Regions from separate parts of the Homo sapiens genome. Here regions 2, 3 and 4 are each linked to region 1. Evidence: promoter capture Hi-C in human tissues and cell types (Jung and others, 2019). All regions are on one chromosome and are shown on one strand. The core of a region is centred on a gene start or on the middle of the fragment in contact, and the rest is flanking DNA. Distances in the headings are between cores, read along the strand shown. Region 1 overlaps TSEN54 (tRNA splicing endonuclease subunit 54). Region 2 holds the start of SUMO2 (small ubiquitin like modifier 2). Region 3 holds the start of NUP85 (nucleoporin 85). Region 4 holds the start of NT5C (5', 3'-nucleotidase, cytosolic).

Evidence for each region. The method cuts DNA at HindIII sites, captures the fragments that hold promoters and counts their contacts. A contact is called where the count stands out against the background at its distance.
Region 2: a contact is called between the fragment with the promoter of SUMO2 here and a fragment that was not itself captured in region 1, in 4 of the 25 tissues and cell types used here (dorsolateral prefrontal cortex, lymphoblastoid cells, ovary and 1 more).
Region 3: the fragment with the promoter of NUP85 here is called in contact with a fragment that was not itself captured in region 1 in 2 of the 25 tissues and cell types used here (dorsolateral prefrontal cortex and lymphoblastoid cells).
Region 4: the fragment with the promoter of NT5C here is called in contact with a fragment that was not itself captured in region 1 in 3 of the 25 tissues and cell types used here (H1 embryonic stem cells, lymphoblastoid cells and spleen).

What each region holds. Positions count from the first base shown.
Region 1 is chr17:75,518,013-75,521,928 of GRCh38, forward strand. It overlaps TSEN54 (tRNA splicing endonuclease subunit 54), which reads left to right. Exons shown (of 11, transcript NM_207346.3): 6 at 983-1,035; 7 at 3,397-3,498; 8 at 3,693-3,916. Among named protein-coding and RNA genes, the nearest start is that of TSEN54, 3.4 kb to the left of the region's middle. The HindIII fragment of the contact is 6,204 bases long and covers 1-3,916 here.
Region 2 is chr17:75,179,940-75,185,292 of GRCh38, forward strand. SUMO2 (small ubiquitin like modifier 2) reads right to left here and starts at 3,020. Exons shown (of 4, transcript NM_006937.4): 1 at 2,875-3,020; 2 at 1,118-1,249. The coding sequence starts at 2,895. RefSeq lists an enhancer at 2,328-2,978 and silencers at 2,560-2,959, 3,090-3,319. The HindIII fragment of the contact is 6,398 bases long and covers 1-5,353 here.
Region 3 is chr17:75,203,990-75,209,195 of GRCh38, forward strand. It overlaps NUP85 (nucleoporin 85), which reads left to right and starts at 1,690. Exons shown (of 19, transcript NM_024844.5): 1 at 1,690-1,805; 2 at 4,538-4,631. The coding sequence starts at 1,773. RefSeq lists enhancers at 495-1,429, 1,430-2,363, 1,522-1,701, 3,789-4,356. The HindIII fragment of the contact is 15,269 bases long and covers 1-5,206 here.
Region 4 is chr17:75,128,065-75,133,658 of GRCh38, forward strand. NT5C (5', 3'-nucleotidase, cytosolic) reads right to left here and starts at 3,678. Exons shown (of 5, transcript NM_014595.3): 1 at 3,470-3,678; 2 at 3,117-3,217; 3 at 2,981-3,041; 4 at 2,689-2,803; 5 at 2,164-2,578. The coding sequence starts at 3,643. The coding sequence ends at 2,424. ARMC7 (armadillo repeat containing 7) reads left to right here. Exons shown (of 3, transcript NM_024585.4): 3 at 613-2,208. The coding sequence ends at 974. RefSeq lists an enhancer at 2,571-2,660 and silencers at 2,697-2,901, 3,271-3,840. The HindIII fragment of the contact is 10,965 bases long and covers 1-5,594 here.

The DNA.
Region 1 (3,916 bases), core at 116-2,615:
CAGGATTAAGGAGAGAGAAGAACCCAGGATTACCGCCCATGATTTGGGCATGCACCAGTGGATGAAGGTGCTGTCATTTTCTGAGTGGGAAGAATGAAGAGGAGCAGATTTGGGAGGACAAGACCAGTCGAAAGAACTGTGTCAGATAAGTTAATTTTGAGGAGCTTCTTGGACATCCAAGTGAGTGTAAAGCAGACAGACAATTGGAATCCAAGTCTGGAGTGTGAGGAGAGGTCAAGGCTAGATGTAAATATGGGTGCCATGAGCACATGGATGGTATTTAAACTACTGGGCTGTATGGGAGTGCCATCAGAGTAGAGGGCTGGGTCTGAGCCCTGGGGCTCTCTGTGTAGGTTAGGGGGCAGATAAGAAGCAGAAACAGACCGAGGAGTGTCTGGTGATGCAGGAGAAAAACCAAAGTCGCATCACAGAAGCCAAAAGAAGGTCTTTCAAGGAGGAAGTGGTTAGCTGTGCTAAAGCCTGCTGAGATCAAGCAGGATGGGGGACATTCTTATCTATGTTCCTCTGATATGAATGCAGGGACACAAGGTTGAATATGTGGCTCCCTACCAGAAACTTCCCACCGGCATCTGTGGAGGTGTGGGGCTGGAGAGATGCCCACCACCTGCCATCATTTTGTTCACATGGTGATCGGCAGCTTCACTCCTATGAGCTTTGTATCAAAATACTCAAGTATTTCAGGGCGTGGTGGTTTTCTGGTTTCATGGCTATCAGTTTTTTTGGATTTGGCTAAATGTCATTTGTGCCGAGTAAGGTAAGTGGGAGGACAGGAATTCAGAGCCTGAGATCTTTAGGGATGGTGTTCGTAATGAAGCATGGTCCAACCTTAATCACAGGGTTTAGAATCTGGGGGTGTACAGGAGGGGCAGAGAGGGCTGTGGGGATGGCCTGTGTCTGGAGAAACCATTTGGTGTTTTCCAGAGTGGCCATCTGAGCTTTCATTTTTTTTTTTTCTTTTGAGGTCTTCAGCCACCTGAAGAGGTTGGGTTATGTGGTTCGACGATTCCAACCAAGGTAAATCCCCTTCCTGTTCCCCTTCCATATATTCTAGTCCTGGGACCTGGCTGACTAGTCTAAGGTAGAAAATGGCCTCTCCTTACCTGGAACCCTTGGCTGGAGTGCAGTTCCTTGGGCACAGACTGGGGGCGCCTGCTGGAAGCGTTCTGAGAGAGGCAGGTTGGGAGGAATCCAGGTCATTTTGTTTTATTCTGGTTTATGAACTCGAGCCGCATCTTCAGATGACCTGCGCCTGCAGCTGAGTGTGTGTGAGCACTGAGAGGCAGGATTGGAACAGTGCCTGGCACTTAGTAGGTGCGCAGGCAGGTATGTAGAGTGTATGCTTAAATGAAGGACTGGGTGAAGAATTTACCATTAGTAGGGTTTCACATTTTTCATGCCAGGTTAAATGTTTTTTCCTTCATCACCTTAGTAATCCAGCATTGGTAAAAGGCAGAGACCTTCAGACTTGGAGTGGAAACGGGTACAGCTTTTGCAGTTACAGTATGTCACAAAAGCTCTAAAGCAGGCACATCTTTTCTTTTCTTTTTGAGACGGAGTCTCACTCTGTCGCCCAGGCTGTAGTGCAGTGGCATGATCTCAGCTTACTGTAGCCTCTGCCTCCTGGGTTCAAGCAGTTCTCCTGCCTCAGCCTCCCAAGTAGCTGGGATTACAGGCGTGTGCCACCATGCCTGGCTAATTTTTTTATTTTATTTTATTTTTAGTACAGATGGGGTTTCACTGTGTTGCCCAGGCTGGTCTCGAACTCCTGACCTCAAATGATCCTCCCGCCTCAGCCTCCCAAAGTGCTGGGATTACAGGCATGAGTCACCACGCCCAGCTCTACATCTTTTCTTTTCTGAAAGTGGAACCTATCCTAAGGAAATAATCGTGGACGTGTACAGTGGTTCACCTGTGAGAATGATCAACGATATTTATTATTTGCTGGGGGTCAGGCCCTGTACACATCGCTGAGAACAGAAGAGCAAAATCACTGCCCTCACAGAGCTTGCATTTAGTGAGGAGTCACACAGAACACACTCACTGTGCAAAATCAGTGTACTTGCAAACAAGAGTTGAACAAGAGGCAGGCTCACACAAATGAGAGGTTATCCCTTAGAGCAGCTCTGTCCAATAGAACTTTCTGTAATGATGAAAATGTTCTGTGTCTGTGATGTCTAATACATGGGGCTAGAGCAACTGTGGGACTGAATGTTTAATTTCATTTAATTTAAATGTATTTAAATCTAACTTAAATAGGCTGGTGTGGTGGCTCACGCCTATAATCCCAGCATTTTGGGAGGCCGACGCGGGCGGATCGCGTGAGCTCAGGAGTACGAGACCAGCCTGGACAGCGTGGTGAAACCCTGTCTCTACTAAAATACCAAAAAAAAAAAAAAAAAAAAATCAGCCAGGTGTGGTGGCAGGCGCCTATAGTCCCAGCTATTCAGGAGGCTGAGGCACGAGAATTGCTTGAACCTGGGCAGCTGAGGTTGCAGTGAGCCGAGATCTTGCCAGTGCACTCCAGCCTGGGCGAAAAAGCGAAACTCTATCTCAAAAAAAAAAGCAAACTTAAATAGCCACCTGTCGCTAGTGGCTCTTTTTTGAACAGCATTGCCTTAAAGCCTTAATTCACAGCCAGGAGGCCAGGCACAGTGGCTCACACCTGTAATCCCAGCACTTTAGGAGGCCGAGGCAGGTGGATCATGAGGTCAGGAGATGGAGACCATCCCGGCCAGCATGGTGAAACCTTGTCTCTACTAAGAATACAAAAATTAGCTGGGCATGGTGGCACGCGCCTGTAGTCCCGGTACTACTCGGGATGCTGAGGCAGGAGAATCGCTTGAACCCAGGAGATGGAGGTTGCAGTGAGCCAAGATTGTGCCACTGCACTCCAGCCCGGTGAGAGAACGAGACTGTGTCTCAAAAAAAAAAAAAAAAGAAAAAGGAAAAAATTCACAGCAGGGAAGAATGCTGCAGTGACGGGGCTGTGTCCACAATATATTATTGAGTGAAAAAAAAGATCACAAAGCAGTATGCTAGTACAATGACATTTTTGTTAGAAAAAAATATATGGAGAGAGATTAGTGTGTACATAAACGAAAGAAAGATGTTAACAATAGTTATCCAAGGTTTTTATTTTTCTATATTTACCAAGTTTGCTAGCTCCTCTGGGCCATTGCCTAGGCAGAGGCACATGGCTGGGCCCCCTGGCTGGGCCTGTACCCCTCATGGGGGTCTGCTTAGGGCCTTAGCACTTGGGTGTGGCTCCGATCCTGGCCCACTGACTGTCCTCTTGGCCCGTTTCCTTACACATCCCACCAGATCCCCAGGCTGAGGAGGTGGGTCAGTGGCCCACCCGCTGTTCTCACCCCACAGCTCTGTCCTGTCCCCGTATGAGAGGCAGCTTAACCTGGATGCCAGCGTGCAGCACTTGGAGGATGGAGATGGCAAGAGAAAGAGGAGCAGCTCCAGCCCTCGGTAACTCCCACATCACGGTGGCCCCCCAGGGAGTGCTGGTGTCTGGGACCTTGGAAAATGCACAGGCTTTCTAAGAACCAGCAGCTCCCATGCAGGCTCAGGGAGACACTAGGGGACCTGCCTTCAGCTCCCATGGGACGTGTGCACCTTAGCAACCAGGGGCAGATGTGCTGCTTTTCCCCCACGTCCCTCAGGTCCATTAATAAGAAGGCCAAGGCCCTGGACAACTCCCTGCAACCCAAGAGTCTGGCAGCCTCCAGCCCACCTCCCTGCAGCCAGCCCAGCCAATGCCCAGAGGAGAAACCCCAGGAGTCAAGCCCCATGAAGGGCCCAGGGGGCCCCTTTCAGCTTCTGGGGTCCCTGGGCCCCAGCCCTGGCCCGGCCAGGGAGGGGGTGGGGTGCAGCTGGGAGAGTGGCA
Region 2 (5,353 bases), core at 1,770-4,269, 340 kb before region 1:
AGGCCTAAAGGAAGTTTTTATCTTCACTGATCTTTCAAGTATAAACTCAAACTCAATTTCCCAACTTACATAGGTTTAAGCCTTATTCTATTTTGAGCCTATTTAGAACAATCTGAAGGGGCCAGGCACAGTGGCCCATGCTTGTAATCCCAGCACTCTGAGAGGCCAAGGTGGGCGGATCACTTGAGGTCAGGAGTTGAGGTCAGGTCTACTAAAAATACAAAATTAGCCGGGCGTGGTGGCGCACGCCTGAAATCCCAGGTACTCAGGAGGCTGAGGCATAAGAATAGCCTCAACTCAGGAGGCAGAGGTTGCAGTGAGCCAAGATTGCACCACTGCACTCCAGCCTGGGCAACAGAGCAAGACTCCATCAAAAACAAAAACAAAAATAAAACACAATTTACAAGGTAGATAAGTTCTAGCTTAAAAGAAATAGAGTGAGACTCCCAGCTTAAAAAAAAAAAAAAAAAAAAAAAAAAAAACGACTTCTTGGTTTGGCGCGGTGGCTCATGCTTGTAATCCCAGCACTTTGGAAGGCCGAGGCGGGCGGATCACCTGAGGTCAGGAGTTTGGAACCAGCCTAGCCAATACGGTGAAACCCCATCTCTACTAAAAATACAAAAAAAAAATTGGCCAGGCCTGGTAGTGGGCACCTGTAATCCCAGATACTCAGGAGACTGAGGCAGGAAAATCGCTTGAAGTGGAGGTTGCAGTGAGCTGAGCTCAGGCCACTGTACTTCAGCTTGGGCAACAAGAATGAAACTCCATCTCAAAAAAATAAAATAAAATAATAAAAGACTTATAAGTAATTTTACCAAGTTCACTCTTATTTTCTTATAAACATAAAATTACATTTCCTTGGTAAAAAAAAATTATTGTAAATATAATTTGATGGATTTCTGGCACAGGACTGGAACCACATATAATACTAACCAAATCATCCTAAGGGTTTTCACGAGCTATCAATATACCAAGTGCACGACAAAACTGACGTGCCAAGTGCATATTCATCCCATCAAAAAGTCACTGTAATGTGCTAGTCTAGTTTTTGTTCCCATGAAAATAAGATTTTTAAAAATAGTTTTATTCAGTGGAAGTACACATATGAATTCCTCACCTGTCGTTCACAATAGGCTTTCATTAGTTTACTAAGTGGTGTATGCCTCTTAATCTTAAACTGCACCACAGAACCATCCTGCCCCGCCACCTTCAAATTAATATGATCGTTGTTCTCAGTCTTGACTCCTTCCTGTTAAAAGAAAAATAAAAGTATAATTTGGGAAATGTGATCAACGAACACGTTTTATAAAGCAGCAGCAGCCCTAGTTGCTTCAAAAATCAACAGGTTTCTCATACTGTATGCTAAAACGGCATACTGCTGTTTTCAGCTGCTGAAATCAATGTGAAAGCGGAAAAATCCTGCAGTAACAGTATTAGATAGCTGTCAGATACGGAAAAGCCTACATGCAATACTATCAGTAGCAACAATATGTTTAAAGTTGGGTCCTATTCAGTGTATTGCAACGTTCTCTTGAAGTTAAACTTCCTAAAATGACATATATCACTCCCAAAATACTTTACCCCCCAAAAAAGTTAAAAATAGAGTCCCTTCTCTTTTCTAAGCACTTTAAGTACAACTGCAAGAAACAAAACAATAAATCTACAGCCTGCCATTCAAAACTCATTACCGTTGTCATTAAAAAGTTACCAAACTCAGTTTAATAACCTAAATCCAATCTCCATTAAAGGAAACACACAAACAAAAAAAACAATCGAAGAATATCCCGATTCCCCCCGGAACAGCGGTAATACTCAGTCAGGACCACAGTTAACGTTCTCCTCTATTAGCAGCTTCATTTTTATTTTCGGTTAAGAGCACTTATTCTCCCCTCCCCCCCTTTGTTGTCATGGGTCAAATACACAGTTTTATCCTGATTTGTTTCTTGTAGATTTCGACCCAACCTAAAGTTGTCCAAAATCGAGTGCAGAAGCAATTCTGTAGCCCTAAAACGCTCCAGAAAGTAAAGGCGCGGGAGGCGGGGGGTGCCACCAAACTAAAAGCAGCAAGTCCCGTGTGCCCCGATGATGGGTGTCCCCAAGTCCTCCCGGGAAGTCTCCGGGTGCCTCAAAAGCCGCGTTCAAAAGTTAAGCCGCACAAAGTCTCTCTGCTCGTACCTGTGCCTCCAACTTCATGAAACCACATGGTGTTCGCGGATTAGGGGTTCGTTGGCACCCAGGGAAAAGCCGCTGCCCCTCCCCCTTCGGGCCCCTGAGGCTATTAAAGTGGGAAATACTCCACGGGAATCCCCCTACCCCCAGGCCCAGGACGGCGGCCCGCGGGCATCCAGGTTCCTGCCCGTCCGCAGCCCATTGATTCGCCCCGAACCCTCGCCCCGCCGCCGCGGCCCCAGGCAGGGGTCCCCAGATGCCCGCGGTTCCTACCCGAGAGGTGAAGCCCGAGCCCAGAGGACTCCTCGCCGCCTCGGAGACTGCAACACCCGACGCGGGGTCGACAGAAGGTGGAGACCCCGCGCGCCCTAACGCCCCTCCTCACGCGCGCCGGCCGGCTGGGCCAAGAATCCCCGTTCGGGGCTGGTGGGTCCGCGGGCGTCCGCTTTCTGCCCGCCCAACTCGCGCCCGGCGCGCACTCGGAGGCCGCCGGGGGCGGGAGAGAGCGGCGGGGCCTCCTTCGGCGCGGGAGGGAGGAAGAGAGGGAGGGAGGAAAATGGCGCGGAGCGCCCGGGCCTGAGCCGCGGCCGGCCCCGTGGGGGGCCCGGGAAAGCGCTGGGAGCCAGCGGCGGGCTCTGGCCGGACCCCGGCCCGCGCCATGACCCCCACCGCGCGGCGAGGCGAAGGGGCCGGCGGCGAGCTCACCTTGGGCTTTTCGTCGGCCATGGCGAGCGCCGGAGTCTCCTCAGCTGCCGCTTCACAAAAGAGGTACCAGGTCCGCACCAAACGAGCACACAAGCAGCACCAGGAGCGGCAGAAGAAGGAGGCGGCAGCGGTGGACGAGGGGAGAGGGTGCGCGCACGTCGTGCGCTCCCTCCCCCCACCCTGCGTGCGCGAGCACGAGTAGCCGAAGCCTCCCATTGGCTGGCGCCTCGCGGGAGCGCGCAACGCTTACATAACCACCCCCACCCCCCGTCCCACGCCACCGCGTCCTGGGCCAGGCGCCCGCCCGGCCGGCGGGAAGAGGCGCGGACACGCGCACCCGGCCCGCCGCGGGGGCGCGCCTGGCTCTGGGCGGGGCTGTATTGTCCTCCTTCGTGGTGGAGCATAATCAAAATGGCTTCCAGCTGGTCCTCGGTGGGAACGATGAGGCTCGAGGCTTTAGACGTAAGCCATAGGCCAGGGAAGGCAGACTTACTAGAGGAGGAAGGGGATTCCTAAATCAAAGCCCCAGCATGAGGTTCTGGAAAAATCTCTCTCATTCAGTGGACCAGCAGCCCTCCCATGGTTACTTCCTCTCAGTCAATCTCAACCTGCTTCCCACCGGACTCTTGCCTAAAATGCAGTGTCTTCTTCTTCTTCTTCTTCTTCTTTTTTTTGAGACGGAGTCTCGCTCAGTCGCCCAGGCTGGAGTGCAGTGGCACGATCTCGGCTCACAGCAACCTCTGCCTCCCGGGTTCAAGTGATTCTCCTGCCTCAGCCTCCCGAGTAGCTGAGACTACAGGTACCCGCCACAACGCCCGGCTAATTTTTCGTAGAGACGGGGTTTCACCGTGTTAGCCAGGATGGTCTCGATCTCCTGACCTCGTGATCCGCCCGCCTCGGCCTCCCAAAGTGCTGGGATTACAGGCGTGAGCCACCGCGCCCGGCCTACAGTGTCTTCTTCTGTCCTGCTGGTAACCCTAGACTTTGACTAGCTACGGGAAAATATTCATGTATTCATTCAACGAGATCCTTACTCATCGCCTGTCTTCCAAGAGGAAACAGTATCCATAAGCGAGAACTACCCAACAATCAAGCTTCCAGCCAATTTAATCCTTTCCTCGTTGCATCCAGTTAAAACATACACATGCGTCCCTCCTGTCTGAAGAACAATCCGATGTGTGTGCACTGGATTCCATCTCGCTTCTTCCCCCGGGGCTTTATTATTTCCTTTTGTCCCTGAATTTTCTTCCTCTCCTCCGTTAGTATAGAAAAAAAAAAAAAAGCTCCCAATTCTATGAAGTTACCATCCTATCTCTCTCCATTCTTGGCCAAACAGCTCGAAAAAATGTCCCCGCCAGCTGTCTCCAACCCCTCCCCTCCCACTCACTCCTCAACCCACTGCAATCTGGTGCTGTCCCCAAAGTTCCACTAAAACTGCTCTCCACAAGGTCACCGCAGACTTCTTTGCTGAATCCAGTATGCTTCTCAGTTTGTCACTCCTCTTGAACTTTGCAGGAGGTAGGTTTTCCTCTCATCTCTAGCCTGTCCTTTGTTCTCTCTGCAATTTTTTTTCTTACTCACTCCTTCCCTTAACTGTTCCTTAGGGTTTTCTTCAAGATCCTTTTATCACTCCATTCCCTCTCCGAGGATGATTTCACCGATTTTCATTACCATCTCTTTGCTAATGATCCTCAAATCCATTATTTCTAGTCCACGTCTTTCTTCTGAGTTTCCAGTTGATTTCTGAACATCTCCACTTGGATATCCCAGAGGCACCTCAGACCCAGCAACTCTCAACTAAAACTCCTCACTTTACCTTCCACATGGGTCCTTCTTCCTGACCTGTCACTCTTAAACTGAGTGACACACCACTACAACAGCTGCCCCAAGCTGGAAAGGCCAGCAACATTCCTGACTTCTTCTCCTTCACACACTCCTCATCCAATCAATCTTGGCCAAATCTTGTCTATTCCACCTTCTTACCAAATCTAATTTCTTTGGCCTCTGGATGGAGCTGCATTTGCTGGCCTTCTGTAGGTTCTCTTTGGGGAGGAAGAGGCTTAAGACCTTAGATGTGTGATAGGCCAAAGCAGGAAGACCATCTAGTTCAGATCAACACTCTCAAAAGAGGCCGGGCATGGTGGCTCATGCCTGTAATCCCAGCACTTTGGGAGGCCGAGGTGGGAGGATCACCTGAGGTCAGGAGTTCGAGATCAGCCTGACCAACATGGAGAAACCCTGTCTCTACTGAAAATACAAAATTAGCTGGGTGTGGTGGCGCATGCCTGTAATCCCAGCTACTCGGGAGGCTGAGGCGGAAGAATCGCTTGAACCCGGGAGGAGGAGGTTGTGGTGAGCTGAGATCTCACCATTGCACTCCAGCCTGGGCAACAAGAGCGAAACTCCATTAAAAAAAAAAAAAAAAAAAAACACTCTCAAGAGATACTGCAATATCAGCCGGGCACGGTGGCTCATGCCT
Region 3 (5,206 bases), core at 440-2,939, 310 kb before region 1:
GCACCCGCCACCACGCCCGGCTGATTTTTTTTTTTTTTTTTTTTTTTTTTTGTATTTTTAGTAGAGATGGGGTTTCACCGTGTTAGCCAGGATGGTCTCTCTCTCCTGACCTGGTGATCCACCCGCCTCGGCCTCCCAAAGCGCTGAGATTACAGGCGTGAGCCACCGCGCCCGGCCTATCCTTGTTCTATATACTGATTACGCATACTATATATGGACCTTTTCCTTCCTCAACCTTTCTATAGATTTCTAAGAATAAGGTTTTGATGAAGTAGTTTATGTATCCTTCTTTTTCAGTTAATCCTAATGGAAAACGGTTGGAAAAATGAAACAATTATCTTACAACTTATTTTTCTCTTTCCTCTCCTCCCCTCTCTCTAAAAGAGTGTGGCTCCTTCCCCTCTCTTTTCCCCTTCCTCTCTCTAGAGTGGTTAACTCTCAAACTGTATTTAACTCTGGAAAAGTTTTCAATTACACAGGCGATAACTCCAACTTGAGGTATAACGGAAACTTATTAAGAGAAAAAGAGCAAAATAATTTTTTTTTGAGACTCAGCAAAATAATTTTTTTTTTTTTGAGACGGAGTCTCCGTCTGTCGCCCAGGATGGAGTGCAGTGGCGCGATCTTGGCTCACTGCAACCTCCGCCTCCCGGGTTGGAACAATTCTCCTGCCTCAGCCTTACGAGTAGCTGGGATTACAGGTGTCCGCCACCACTCCCGGCTAATTTTTGTATTTTCAGTAGAGACGGGGTTTCGCCATGTTGTCCAGGCTGGTCTTGAACTCCTGACCTCAGGTGATCCAACCACCTCGGCGTCCCGGAGTGCTGGGATTACAGGCGCGCGCTACCAAGCACAGCTAATTTTTTTTTTTTTTTTTGAGACGGAGTCTCGCTCTGTCTCCCAGGCTGGAGTGCAGTGGTGCGATCTTGGCTCAATGCAACCTCCACCTCCCGGGTTGGAACAATTCTCTTGCCTCAGCCTTCCGAGTAGCTGGAATTACAGGTGTCCGCCACCACGCCCGTCTAATTTTTTATATTTTTAGTAGAGACGAGGTTTCATCATATTGGCCAGACTGGTCTTGAACTCCTGAACTCCAGTGATCCACCCACCTTGGGCTGCCAAAGTGTTGGGATTAGAGGCTTGAGCCACAGCGCCGGGCCTTCAGGGGTATCGATTTTGTTCCCGTGCCTCTTGTGTGTGTTCTAGTGTGGAAGTGGAGGCGATTGCTTTCCAGCACAAGCCCGTTTGACTGTCGGGGTTTGGACAAGTGGCTGCGACGACACTAAGGTGGAGACCGGGATGTAGCGAGGACTCCCAGAGTTGGGAGACGTTGTACGCTTACTGGGACCTAAATCCCGCACGAGTTCCCACCCAAGTGCCGCCGCCCCAGCCTACGCACGCGCATTCGCACCGTCTCCAGCCCCGGGGTCCTCCTGCCCCTCCCGCCGTCTCCGGGGGCCTTTTCTCCGCTCGGCACCAGGGTGTCCCCGGCGCCGCCTGATCCTGTTAGCGCGGTACTCTGAGTGCAGTCAGTCCTCGGCGCTGTTTTCCCTGATTTGCTGTCGACGCCAGGAAGGAAGGACGCGTGCAGAGGACCGCAGAGGGGTGGCCGTGGCTGAGAGGAGACAGCGCCGCAGCACTGAGGGTTTGGGCTTGCAGGCGCTGCAGGAGACGCCCAGGCGGAGTCTTGTCTCGCAGCCAGCTCTGAGCGGGAGGCCTGAGCGGGAAGCATTGGCGTCCGAGCGACTTCTAGGAGCCTGGGGTTCGGCGCTATGGAGGAGCTCGATGGCGAGCCAACAGTCACTGTAAGGGTACCCCGAACAGGCTTGCTCGTCCTTGCGGGTTGAGAACTGCGTCTGCTTAGTTACTTCAGGCTTGTCTGCTTCCCTAGTGGTCGCGAGGCGCTCGTCCCCTTCCCTCGACTCAGTTGCCACTTTTCCGGAGGTCGCAGTGTTAACGAGGTGCCCGCCCTAGGGTCGCAGTGGTCGCGGGGTTTCTGCCACCAGTCACAAACCCCGGCCTCGAAGGTCCCACTCCGTCCCTTTCCTTCCTTTGTGTTCCTGGCCTTTTTACTTCCCTTGCTTTTCCTCTTGGGCATTAGAGTGGGTTCAGCCCAAGCAGAGGAATTTATATTTTTATTCCAGCCGTATTAAGCTCTGCATCGCGGCACATTGAGCTTCTGCCTGTGTGGCCTAAGGTTTATTCAACGTATTATCTCAGGAGACTATTCCTGTTTTATCGCTGTGCATTCAATTCCATTTGAACTTTGAAGACAGTATGTCAACTGTGGATGATCTGTGATGTGTATAAAAAAAATTCACGCGCTTTATGTACGAGATACCTACCGTTTCTGCTAGTTGGATTGCTCTTGTTTTCCCTCTTGTTAACCAGAAGTGACTGAGGCAGGTCTCAACCGATAAAGGTTTAATTAGCTAAGGTTGAGGATCCAACCGGGAAAAAGCACAGGTCACAGGAGGATCTGAGACCTGTGCTTTTTCCAAAGATGGTTTTGGGAACATCACTAGTTAAAGAGGAAGGAGCTAGCAGGAGGGGCAAAAAAGGGAGGTTAGGCAGTGAGGAGGCAAATGATTACATTCTTGTGAGTCGGTGATTAGCCTCAGTAAATCTGCATTTTACCTGTGAAAAGAGGGAGCAGAGGAAAATTTTATGTATGCATTCATCTCAGGGTAGGTAGAGGGATTATGGTTATTATTACTGTTATTTTTTAGACGGAGTCTCGCTCTGTCTCCCAGGCTGGAGTGCAGTGGCGCGGTCTCGGCTCACTGTAACCTCCGCCTCCCGGGTTCACACCATTCTCCTGCCTCAGCCTCCTGAGTAGCTGGGACTACAGGTGCCCGCCACCACGCCCGGCTAATTTTTTGTACTTTTTTGTATTTTTAGTAGAGACGGGGTTTCACCGTGTTGGCCAGGATGGTCTCAATCTCCTGACCTCGTGATCCGCCCACCTCGGCCTCCCAAAGTGCTGGGATTACAGGCGTGAGCCACCGCACCCGGCCGATTTCTGGTCTTTTACTTGTGAAGATAAGCTGGTAGTTGACATTGTCAGAATCAACAGATCTTGATTTTAGGACTAGTTTATAGGGGCGATGTGTATCCTGAAAATTTTAGAGGCTCACAAGGAATTTCCTTGTGAGCAATTTGTGAGGGAAGCTCTCTGGGGAGATATGTGGCCTTCTTTTTTTTTTCTCTTGAGGCGGAGTTTCCCTCTTGTCGCCCAGGCTAGAGTGCAGTGGTGCGGTCTCGGCTCTCTGCAACCTCCGCCTCCCAGGTTCAAGCAATTCTCCTGCCTCAGCCTCCTGAGTAGCTGGGATTGCAGGCATGTGCCACCATGCCCGGCTAATTTTGTATTTTTTTAGTAGAGACGAGGTTTCTCCATGTTGGTCAGGCTGGTCTGGAACTCCTGACCTCAGGTGATCTGCCGGCCTCAGTCTCCCAAAGTGCTGGGATTACAAGTGTGAGCCACTGCGCCTGGCCTCATTCTTTTTTTGAGACGGATTCTCACTCTGTCACCCAGAGTGGAGTGCAGTGGCGTGATCTCAGCTCACTGCAACCTCTGGCTCCTGGGTTCAAGCGATTCTTCTGCCTCAGTCTCCTGAGTAGCTGAGATTACAGGTGCGTGCCACCACACCCAGCTAATTTTTGTATTTTTGGTAGAGATGGGGTTTCACCATCTTGGTCAGGCTGGTCTCCAAAGCCTGACCTCGTGATCAGCCTGCCTCGGCCTCCCAAAGTGCTGGGATTACAGGCATGAGCCACCGCGCTTGGCTAGGAGTTCGAGATCAACCTGGCCAACATGGTGAAACCCCATCTCTACTAAAAAAATACAAAAATTAGCCTGGTTTGGTGGCGCGTGCCTGTAATCCCACCTACTCAAGAAGCTGAGGCAGGAGAATCACTTGAACCCAGCAGGCAGAGGTTGCAGTGAGTCGAGATTGCGTCACTGCAGTCCAGCCTGGGCAACAAGAGTTCGAACTCCTGACCTCAGATGATCTGCCCGCCTTAGCCTCCCAAAGTGCTGGCAGGAGCCACCCCGCTGCCGGCCCAAAATGAATTTTTCTTACCAGTGTTATAAGGAAATGTTATTGAAGGATACAGTGTTATTAGAGGACCAGCTGTGCTCTTCACTTAAAGTGTTTTTCAGCAGGGCGGGCACGGTGGCTCGCGCCTGTAGTCCTAGCACTTTGGGAGGCTGAGGCGGACGGATCACCTGAACTCAGGAGTTTGTGACCAGCCTGGGCAATATGGTGAAACTCTATCTCTACTAAAAATGAAAAAAAAAAAAAAAATAGCCGGGTGTGGTTGCACACACCTGTAGTCCCAGCTACTCAGGAGGTTGAGGCAGGAGAAGCCTTTGAACCCAGGAGGCGGCGATTGGAGCAAGCTGAGATTACACCACTGTACACCAGCCTGTTAGAGTGAGTCTTTGTCTCAAAAAAAAAAAAAAAAAAAAAAGAATGGAACAACTTCAGTAAGAAGAACATTTTTCATTTTAGATTTCTATGCCTTATTTTACTAGTTGATTCCAGGCGTGAATTCCAAGAAGAACCAAATGTATTTTGACTGGGGTCCAGGGGAGATGCTGGTATGTGAAACCTCCTTCAACAAAAAAGGTAGGGTTTTTTTTCTTCCAAATTATCCATCTTGGCACATTTGGTTGTTTTTCTGTTTATTACCTCAGATTTTACTAGTTGTGGACTGAAACAGTTGAATTTATTTTGTACTATTTTAATTTTCTCTATTTTGTTTTCAAGATACAACAGGGTTTTGTTGTGTCACCTGGGCTGGAGTACAGTGTGATCATGGCTCACTGCAGCCTCTACCTCTTGGGCTCAAGTGATCCTCTGCCTCAGTCTTCCTAGTAGCTGAGACTACAGGTCACCATGCCACCACGCCCAGCTAATTTTTTTTTCTTTGTAGAGATGGGAGTCTCATTTTGTTGCCTAGGCTGGTCTCGCACTCCTGGCCTCAAGCGATCCTGTTGCATTTTGGCATTTTTATTTTTGAAATGTTAGCTATTTTAGATTTTCATTGATTTTTGAGATCTTGAAGATGTTGAATCCCGGAAAAAAATTAATAGTTTTCATGAAAAATTTTCTTCATATTTAAAATGTCAAGCTTTTTATCCCTTTTTCTTTGTCCAAAGTGACCAAATTCCTATCAGTAGCTCCCTTATTGTGAACCTTGC
Region 4 (5,594 bases), core at 2,428-4,927, 390 kb before region 1:
TTAGTTTTTTATTTATTTATTTATTTCTGAGACAGAGTCTAGCTCTGTTGCCCAGGCTGGAGTGCAGTGATGCAATCTCGGCTCACTGCAACCTCCGAGTCCCAGGTTCAAGCAATTCTCCTGCCTCAGCCTCACAAGTAGCTGGGATTACAGGCACCTGCCACCACACCCGGCTAATTTTTGTATTTTTAGTAGAGACAGTTTCACCATGTTGGCCAGGCTGGTCTCGGACTCGTGACCTCAGGTGATCCACTCACTTCAGCCTTCCAAAGTGCTGGGATTACAGGCGTGAACCACCGTGCCCGGGCCGGCCTTGTTTTAGGTTTTTACATTTAAGAAAGGGGAAAAAAAAAGCGTATCAGCCATTGAACTTGCTGAACTGAGAGGGAAAGGGATTTGTGCCCACTTCTGGAAGGGTGGGCTGTGGCAGGCTGGAGCAGGCAGGCAGGCCTTTCTGGAAACTTGAGAAGGCAGGAGCCGGAATGGGCTTTGGATGCCTTGTGCTGGGGCCAGCTTCTCAACAGCCTGGGCCCCTACCTGGGGCTCACGGGCAGGGGAGGTGGGAGGAGGCCCGGGGCTACAGCATCCAGACTCTTCCTTGCTCTCCCACAGGAGGCCTGTGCAACCTGTGCCCAGACAGGGCCAACAAGGAGCACATCCTGCACGCAGGAGGTGTCCCACTCATCATCAACTGCCTATCCAGCCCCAATGAGGAGACGGTGCTGTCTGCCATCACCACGCTCATGCACCTGAGCCCGCCGGGCCGCAGCTTTCTCCCAGAGCTGACCGCCACGCCCGTGGTGCAGTGCATGCTTCGCTTCTCCCTCTCGGCCAGCGCCAGGCTCCGGAACCTGGCACAGATCTTCCTGGAGGACTTCTGCTCCCCCCGCCAGGTGGCCGAGGCCCGCAGCCGGCAGGCGCACTCTGCCCTGGGTATCCCACTGCCGAGGAGCGTGGCCCCACGGCAGCGCTGATCCATGGAGACTGCGAGACCGTGGCACCCCTACTGCTGGAGACCACAGTCCTGATGTGGACGCAGGGAACGGGGAGCACATACTGCCCCATTGGTGCCTTTTCAGCCATCTGAAAGGCGGGTTCTTTCAGCAGGACAGGCATTTACACTGATGAAACGCCACTGGGAGTGAGGAAGCCAGACTCCAGAGACACGGAGAAGATCAAACTGGAGCTGCGTTCATAGGCTGGCACTCTCAATCCTACATCAGGTGCCACCACCACCAGACTCAGGCCCTGGTGTAAGAAGCGGCCAAGTGCCTGGACCCAGAGGCTTTGCAGGACAGTGTTCTCAGGAGCTGGGCCTGAGGCTTAGGAGAGCTGCCTTCGCTGCAGGAAATCAGGGATTATCCCTTAACAGAAGTGTCTGGAGTAGTTTTCAGGTATAGGAATGAGATGCCTCGTGGTGAAAGGATCTCACCCTGGGAAGATGTGGTGCCCCCTCCAGGGCTCTGGAGGATGGATGCCTCCCCCAGGGGCTCTCCAAGCTGGGCATTTGGGCCTGGTGGATGCCAACCTGGATAACCTGTGGCCCAGCATTGACTGTCCACCCAGCCTTGCTGTTAGGCACCATGACTCCAAGATGAAGATGTGGTCCCTGCCCTTGAGTGACAGCCCAGGGACTTAATGTGGCCATCGGGCATCAAGCACAAGGCCATGCAGGTGATGATACGTCGGAATAGAGGCACCAGCCCTGGTAACTGCATCTTCTCCCCTTGCCACCCCATGGCCCCGGCTGAAAGCTTCGGCCCTCCTCTGCTGTCACTCAATGATGGGGAGCCCTACCCCAGAAGTGTATCCCACGAGGGCATCAGGGACGCAGTGAGTGTTGCTCAAGGGAGTCAGGAAGAGACGGCAACGTAAAGGATGTGGCTCCATGTCCATGGTGCCCCCTGGTCAACATAAGGAGCGTGGGATCCGATGGAAAGGTGGAGCTCAGGGAAAATGGGGGTCCTTGCCTCTCGTGTACCCCCTCAAGGCTGACCCCTTAGATGGCCCAGGAATGGCAGGTGCTACAAAAATGGTACCCACGTGGGCATGGAAATGGGGCAGATTAGGGGACCACTGGACTCAGAGGGGAGGGAAGGGCTCATCAGCACCCGCTCAGGGAGCCTGTCCCTTTATGTTCCCAAATAAAGGGTCCTAGAAGACTAGAAAGCCAAGGTCTTTTATTAAAGGTCCCGACTGGTTTTCCCACTGTATTTCCATGCCAGCCAGGGTCCAGGGACAGCCTCTCGGGAGGTACCGGGTGGCTGGGCCTGGGGCCCGGTAGCACAGCGCTTAACGGTATCTGCCTGCTCCACTCCACGGGGCCAGAGGCACCAGCACGATGCCGCCCCGACTCGGCTCTGCGGTGGCCCCTGTGGGCCTGCCCTTCCTTTAGCTCCAGCTGCTGCCCGCGGCATCCCCGCTCATTCCCGCTGCGCAGCTCCGCGCTTGCTATCTAAGATCTCCCTCCAGTTGTCACTCCAGGAGAGCAGCCGTCTCCTTGTCGGGGGCAGGACCAGGTGCCGATTGTGGCAGCAGGTGAACAAGATGTGCTCCCAGCTTGGGGTCTCCTCCTGGCCTAGGACAGTGAAAGACAGCGCGCTGCCATCTGTCATGGGTATTATTACTCCCTCTCCCTAATCCGGGCAGGCCAGAGGCCTGGAGGCTGCCAAGGATAACGGGTCCAACCTCGAACTGTGTCCTTGTCATCAATGAGCAGGTCCCCCAAGACCACCGTCTTGTCCCTTGTCAGGATAATTCGTTCTACGAACTGGGGCCCCAGGTGCTGCTCCACCCAGCGGTACTGTGTAGAAAACACAGTCTGTGAGTAGGGCCTGATGGAAGCCGGAATTCAGGGATAGGGACTTGGCTCTAAGCCCTTGAGAGCCCCCCACCCCCACCTTCTGGGTTTCTGGTGGTTTCTTTTTAAAATCAGGATTTAGGCAGCTCCACGTGCGGAGTAGGGGCGGGGCAGCCACACCTTCTCACCCACACAGTGGTGGTACTTCAGCAGGGGGCTGGTGCAGATGAAGACCTGCGTGCTGCGGAGAAGGACGCGGTTACCGCCGGGAGCCAGGAGCCCGCCCAGGACTCCGCCCGCCCCCCTCTCTCCTTACTCCGGTAGGTCGTTCATCTCCCGCACAGCGTCCAAGGCTCCCGGGATGGGCTCCAGGTCCAGGAAAAAGCCCGGGGCTTCGTACACACTGGCCACTTTATCCTGAAAGACAAGAGTTCTGGGTCCCGGCTTCCCGTTCCCGCGAGGACCCGCAGGGAGGCTCCTGGGGGCTCCGGGCCCGAGCTCAGAGGGGCGGAGGGGGCGTCGGTCAGGGGCACGCGCCCAAAGGCTCCTCCCCAGGGTGCGCTGCCCGCGGGTTCCAGGGTGAGAGCTCTGCGCCCTTCACAGAGAAGGGGGAGACCCCCGGAACGGAGCGAGCGGGCCCTGCCCGGGTGGGGACCCTGCGCCCCCTACCGCCAGGTCGGGCCGCAGGGCGCGGTACTGCTCGCGGGCCAGGAAGCCGCGGCGTTGCTCCAGCGGCACGTGCGGCTCCTCAGGGAAGCGGCGGCGGAAGCCCCGCAGGAGGCCGGCCTCGAAGTCGGCCAGGACGCCGTCCATGTCCACCAGCACGCGCACGCTCCGCGCCATCGCCGCCGGGCCGGAGCTGCGAGCTCTCGGGGTCTGGGGGGCGCGGGCTCGGCCGGAAGCGGAGGGAGCGCTGCTTCCGGAGTCCGCCGGGCTGATTTGCATAGAGTGTCCGGGCCGCCCCGCCCAGGTCGTAAACCAGTGCCGACGGCCCTGCGGTTGCGCGAGGCCATCCTAGGGTTCGGGTGCAGGGACGGCTTTGGGGGGCACTTTTCTGACCCTGCGCTTCTTCGGGACCCAGCCTTTGTCCCCATCAGCCGCCTCCCACTTTACGGCAGACGTACCCCCGTTCACCCCACGTTACTAGTAGGGGACCGACCTTCCGGGGGCCCAACAAAGGGATGCTCTGAAATACTGGGAAGCATCTAACGAGGAGTCAAGGGTCCTAAACCCGTGGGGCTAGCTCCACATTTTTTTTCTTTTTTTCTTTTTTTTTTTTTTTATTTTGAGACGGAGTCTGGCTCTGTCGCCCAGGCTGCGGCGCAGTGGCGGCGCGATCTCGGCTCACTGCAGCCTCCGCTTCCCGGGTTCAACCGATTCTCTTGCTTCAGCCTCCCGAGTAGCTGGGATTACAGGCACCCGCCACCACGCCTGGCTAATTTTTGTAGTTTTAGTAGAGACGGGGTTTCGCCATGTTGGTCAGGCTGGTTTCAAACTCCTGACCTCAAGTGATCTGCCTGCCTTGGCCTCCCAAAGTGTTGGGATTATAGGCTTGAGCCACCGCACCTGGCCAAAGTCTTATTACCGCAGTACCGTGGTCTCAGTGGATTGCTTTCGTCTGTGCAGTGGAGCAGGAACAATCCCTCGAGGACTACAAAGTGAAATGAATCTGTTAACTGGTTTGTGTAAGTCTAGCTCGTTAAGAGACTAATTCACACTAGAGTTGGCTTGAAACATGGGAGCTTCAAGTGTGGTTTCCCCCGGAAAGATGATTTTGATCAAGCACAGGTAATCAGGACTGTCCTCAGGACTTTATGTGGAACTGACATCGCTTACCTACTCCCGTCTAGAAAATGCTGAACAGGGCCAGGTGCGGTGGCTCACGCCTATAATCCCAGCACTTTGGGAGGCCGTGGCGGGCGGATCATCTGAGGTCGGGAGTTCAAGACCAGCCTGACCAACATGGAGAAATCCTGTCGCTACTAAAAATACAAAATTAGCGTGGTGGCACATGCTTGTAATCCCAGCTACCCGGGAGGCTGAGGCAGGAGAATCTCTTGAATCCAGGAGGCAGAGGTTGCGGTGAGCCGAGATCATGCCATTGCCCTCCAGCCTGGGCAGCAAGAACAAAACTCCTTCTCAAAAAAAAAAAAAAAAAAAAAGAACATGCTGAACTGTGATACATTTTGTTGACTCTTCTTTTTGTGGATGTCATGAAACTTCCTGACTCCACTCAAATCTATTTGCCTACAAACTATAAAGCCAGGCGCCGTGGCTCAGGCTGGTAATCCCAGCACTTTGGGAGGCCCAGGTGGGAGACAGCTTGAGCCCAGGAGTTCAAGACCAGCCTGAGCAACACAGGGAGACCCTGTCTCTACAATAAACAAATCAATAAGCTGGGTATGGTGGCGCATGCCTGTGGTCCTAGCTACTCATGAGCCTTAGGTGGGAGGAACCCTTGAGCCCAGGAAATTGAGGCTACACAGCCTTCATCCTGCCACTGCACTCCAGCCTGGGTGACAGAGGGAGTCCCTGTTGGGGGAGGGGAGAGCCAAAATTATAAACACAGATTTAAGTGGCCCATCTCGCCATTGTTCCCCATCTGATGAACCCACTGCTTCCAAATATATGTAACAGAGGCTGGGCACGGTAGCTCACGCCTGTAATCCCAGCACTTTGGGAGGCTGAGGCGGGCGGATCATGAGGTCAGGAGATCAGGACCATCCTGGCTAACACGGTGAAACCCTGTCTCTACTAAAAATACAAAAAAAAAAAAAAAATTAGCTGGGCATGG